Regions from separate parts of the Homo sapiens genome. Here region 1 is linked to region 2. The links are contacts of gene promoters, found by promoter capture Hi-C in human tissues and cell types (Jung and others, 2019). All regions are on one chromosome and are shown on one strand. The core of a region is centred on a gene start or on the middle of the fragment in contact, and the rest is flanking DNA. Distances in the headings are between cores, read along the strand shown.

Region 1 (2,700 bases), core at 99-2,598, 35 kb after region 2:
TACTTCTAACCTGTAAAACTAAAATATCAGGGATGTTATTCCAATGCGTTTAAGAAAACCAATAGTGTAATATTTATTTTCAAACTGAATAGCTAAAAATTCTGTACCACAATTTAATTATCTGTTTTATATATCAAACTCACTGGGCACTATATTTTAAATAAAGCTTCATCCATTATTGGGCAAGAAAATTAAATAGAAATATTCTAAATTATTAATGATATGGCAATATTGTTAGTGTAGTAGTTGTCATTTGCTCCACCATAGCATACTCAGAATACAAAAGCAATTTCAATTTTATTTCTTTTTCTTGTCTAGTTGTTCTGGCTAAGACCTCCAGTATTAATGTTAAATAGAAGTGGCAAGAGTGGGCACCCTTGCCTTGTTCTTCATCATAGAGGATAAAGCTCTGTTTTTCATATTGACAATGATGAAATTTATTATATATGGCCTTTTATGTGGACTTTTAATATATGGCCTTTTTATTTGGACATTTTTATATGGCCTTTATTATGTTAAGTTTATTTTCTTCTATTTTTCTAATTTGTTGAGTCTTGTCATGAAATGGTGTTGAGTTTTGTCAAATGCCTTCTCTTCATGTGTTGAGATGATCATGTCATTTATATCCTTCATTCTGTTAATGTGTTATGTCACACTAATTGATTTGTAGATGTTGAACCATCTTTGCATTCCAGGAACAAATGCCACTAGGACTTAGTGTATGCTCCCTTTAATGTGCTATTGAATTCAGTTTGGTAAATTAGGCAAAAAAAAAAAAAAAAGTTAAGAGGCATCCAAATCAGAAAAGAATAAGTAAAATTATCTCTGTTTGCAAGTGACAGGATCTTATATGTAGAAAATCACAAAGACTCCACACACACACACAAACACAAAATATTCAAACTAATAAACAAATTCAATAAAATTGAAGGATACAAATCAACATACAAAAAAATCAGTTGTAATTCCATACACTAAGAACAAATTATCTGAGAATAAATTTTTTTTAAAAAATTATTTACAATAGCATCAAGAAGAAAAATAGAAATAAACTAAGAAGGTGAGAAACTTCTACACTGAAAACTAGAAAATATTGATGGATAAAATTATAGTACAAAGAAATAAATGGAAAGTCATCCCATGTTCATGGATTAGAAGACTTAATATATTGTTAGAATATCTGTACTACCCAAAGTGGTTTACAGATTCAGTGTAATCCTATTAAAATTCCAATGGAATTTGTTTTACAGAGATAGGAAAAAAAAGGAATCCTAAGATTCATAGGGAACCAGAAAGACTACAAATAGCCAAATCAATATTGAGAAAAAAGAACAAAGTTGCAGGTATTATTATTTATAACTTCAAAATATTTTAAAGTTACAGTAATTAAAATAATATAGTACAGGCATAAAGATAGACATATAGACCAATTGAACAGAATAGACAGCCTAGAAATACACTTATACATGAAGATCAATTGATCTTCAACAAAGGTGCCAAGAATACACATGGGGAAAGGCTGGTATCTTCAACAAATGGTATTAAGAAAACTGGCCACCCAATTGCAAAATAATAAAATTGAACCCCTATCTTTTAAAAATCAACTGGAAATGGATTAAAGGCTTAGTCAGAAAATGTGAAGCTGTAAAACTACTAGAAATAAACATAGGGGAAACACTTCATGAGATTGGTTTTGGAAATACTTTTTTGGATATGACATCAAAAGCACAAGCAACAGAAAAAAAGGAACAAGTACGACTACATCAAACTAAAAAGCTTCTGCACAACAAAGGAACGAATCAACCACATGAAGAGGCAGTCTATGGAATGGGAGAAAATACTTGCAAACTGCATATCTGATAAGGGGTTAATATTCAAAATAAATAAGAAATTCCTTCAACTTAATAGCAGAACAAAAATAAAAACAAAAAACAAAAACAAAACACACAGACTCTCTCACACACACCCACAAATGCAAATAACCTGATTAAGACAATGGGCAAAGGACTTGAATAGACATTTCTCCAGAGAAGACATACAAATGGCCAATAGGTGTATGAAAAGATGCTAAAAATTACTAATTATTATAAAAATGGAAATCTTAATCACAACAAAATATCACTTCATACCTGTAGGATAGCTATGGTAAAAAAAAAATGGTAATGACTGTTGGAGAGGCATGCAGAAATTGGAACCTGTTTCCACTATCTGTGGGAATGAAAAATAGTACAGTTGCTACAGAGGTTCCTCAAAAAATTAAAAGTAAAAATATCATATAATCCAGTAATCCCATTCTAGCTATTTATCAAAAAGAAGTGAAATCAAGATCTCAAAGAGATATTTGCACTCCCATGTTTATTGTAGCATTATTCACAATAGATAAGATGTGGAAACAATTTAAATGTTCATTGATGGATAAATAAATAAAGTATGACACAGACATACAATAGAATGTTACTCAGCCTTAAAAAAGGAAATCCTGCTGGGCACGGTGGCTCATGCCTGTAATCCCAACACTTCAGGAGGCTGAGGTGGGTGGATCATCTGAGATCGAGACCAGCCTGGCCAAAATGGTGAAACCCCATCTCTACTAAAAATACAAAAATTAGCCAGCTGTGGTGGTGCCCACGTGTAATCCCAGCTACTGGGGAGGCTGAGGCATGAGAATCGTTTGAACCCGAGGGGAGGAGGCTGCAGTGA
Region 2 (2,700 bases), core at 72-2,571:
CAAAAAACCCCAGTTTTCTCTTCTAAGTCTCTTTCATCACTCTCTCCCTTCCTGTTGCTTGTCAGCAATGATTCAGCCTCAGTCATGGATTTCCTCGGGGCTCTTGCACTTGTTAGGATGAGAAAGGGAAAGAAGGGAGGTGCCTGCCAGTAACCTAGCAAGATGTTTGTAACTGGGAATTTGGACATAAGCTGTTGAGCATTAAATTCTAGCCTCAATTGCTTGCCACCCGCACACCTTCTTCTTAAGTGTTCTGGCCGCCTGAGCTCTCATTTCCACTTCTAGGTCAGAGAGACCCTATAACTTCACCGCTCCGAGCATAGACAACATGCTAACCTGTGTTTCCATAACCTCCCAGCCTCCTCCTATAAAGAAAGCGCTGTTGTCTCTTTACATACCTATGACTCCTGCAATGAACACAGGCATTCTCTGCCTGTCCATTAACCTTACACAGGTAAGTCTCCCCACATATCACACAGAATAGGCCAAAAGTCTCCAAGTCCCGTTCCAGGAGCAATCTGCTCTAGGCCTACTCTCCTCTTCTAGATCACTCACCAGGATCTAGAGCAGTGGTTCTCAAACTTTGGTAGGTACAGGCTCTCCTGGAGAGCTGCTAGGGCACACAGACCCAGACTCAGGCCGACCCAAGTATGAAAAACACAGGTCGCTACCAGTCTGCACTCAGAAACGGGATCCTGTACAATTAAGAGGTTGTGTGAAAAAACTGTCTTTTCAAGTTCTGCTCCCCACTCAGGATCTAAAGAACACCCACGCCCCTCAGCGACCTAAGCTCTCCCACCTTTTCCCGGAACCCCCCACCCCCATGCCCTCTGCTTCCACCCTGGACTTCCTCCCACGAGACTTTTCCCAGCGGTCTCTCCTCCCGCTTCCCCTCCCGGGGTCCTCGGCGCACTCCTACACTGGAAAAGAGGAAACAAATGCAGCCTCCACGAGGGGCGGCGCCAGTCCTCTGGGGACCCAAACCGACTCCGCCCGAGACAACTTTTCAAACTTCTCAACTCACTCGAACCCCCACGACAATGAAAGAAACGTAGAAAAGACTGAAGCAACTGAGCTTTACACCCTGTGGAATTTCCAATCCCGCCTGCGCTCCCAAGGGAGAGTCCCCTATCCCTCCCGTCCGCCGCGCCGGCCAGGGGCGGGTGAAGCCCCGGGCCCCCCCAGTACCCCAAGCACCTCAACCCTGCACCCGCTGGGGTCCCGTCCGCCGAGGTCCGGGGCAAGGGAGCCCAAACCCCACTTACTTGCCCCAAGCCGCGCGCAACCGCGCCCGCCGCACAGCGCCGGCCGCCGAAGGTTTGCCTCCCAGGAAGCAGCAAGCGCCTGGGCGCGGGCAGGGAGGGGAGGGGAGTTACCTGCCCAGCGTCAGGTCCGCGGAGGGAGGCTGATTCCGGCTCGAACCGCGCCTCCCCGAGACAAGGTGCAGCGCTGGAGGGGGCGGGAGTGGAGACGGGTTACAACAAGTCCCAAGTGGTGGCACGCCAAACCCCGAACAGCCAGAAAGCGCTCGGAACCTGTCTGAACTCAAACACCCTGCTCTCTCCCAGCGGAGTATGAAAAAGCCTTTCTTTCCTGCCCGCCCTCGGGGCTACGGGGCAATTACAAGTCCCGACACCCTGCTCCTGGTCTGGGGCGAGGAGCGATCCCGGAGGACAGCGACGCTCACCTGGGAAGAAGGCGGATCTAGGCCGAGCGGGGCCGTGGTCCCGTCCTCGCTTTTCCCTGGGCTCAAGAATGCCTGGAGGAGAGGCCTGGGGGCCGCGGGTGAGAGCAAGGGTTGTAGCACCTTCGAGAGTGTGGGGCGGATTCAGCCCACAGTAGGTAATTCCAGTGGGCATCCCGCAGTGCAGACTCCTTCTCAGTGCCTAAGAGTCTTTAGGCTTGGAGAGGACGTGGGGAGTGGAAAAGTAGAAGAAAAAGTGCTTGTGCCTTTACTTTTTTATGTAAAAGAATTTCAAATATCATCAAAGATTTTGGTACTGACTCTCAACTGTCCTAGTTACAGATTTGGGATGAAAGGATATTGTTTAAAATAGGGAGATGTGCGTGAAAGCAGGTCCCTCTAGGTGGGATACTGCGGAGCAATGTTACGGAAGTGGAGACACTATAATTTAAACATAAAATACAGTAATTAATAAAATTTATTTTTTAATTTCCTTGCCTACACCTCAGTAAATCTGTCATGAGTATTTATAATAATTTGTGTAATCACGTAGACTTCAAGATAAAGTCATTTGCAGCAAATGTCTAAAATGCAGCCTAGTACTGTAAGAATGGAATTTAGGGTAGTAATAGGCATATTTTAAGCGTCTGGCATAATATATAAATTATCATAAAATTGAATTGACCCTTAAAAATGACTTTCGTGGCGATTTTGCTCCAAATAAAACAGTTGAGGAAAATGCTAAGCCATTAAGGTTTGGATGAATCCCTGACTGACGTGCTGATTTAAACTGAAGAATGAAATTCGCATTAGTCTAGATACTGAAACATCAGAGCAAAGGCCAAAGACAGGAAAGTAAAAGCAAATTCCAGGATTAGTACAAAGCTAATCTTCCAGATCTTGGTGTCTGGTTTGTAGTTTCATTTCTTCAAAAGAATGTAGAGAATTGTCTTGTTTTATGTATTTATTTTTTCCTTCTGTTCCTAATTTTCACATCTCACTTTTTAATATTTTTT

The links. Contacts are between HindIII fragments. The study calls those that stand out against the background at their distance.
Region 1: a fragment that was not itself captured here is called in contact with the fragment with the promoter of FAM83B in region 2 in 1 of the 25 tissues and cell types used here (aorta).

What each region holds. Positions count from the first base shown.
Region 1 is chr6:54,810,834-54,813,533 of GRCh38, reverse strand. No RefSeq gene overlaps it. Among named protein-coding and RNA genes, the nearest start is that of FAM83B, 35 kb to the left of the region's middle. The HindIII fragment of the contact is 4,827 bases long and covers 1-2,700 here.
Region 2 is chr6:54,845,392-54,848,091 of GRCh38, reverse strand. FAM83B (family with sequence similarity 83 member B) reads right to left here and starts at 1,321. Exons shown (of 5, transcript NM_001010872.3): 1 at 1,266-1,321. The HindIII fragment of the contact is 13,561 bases long and covers 1-2,700 here.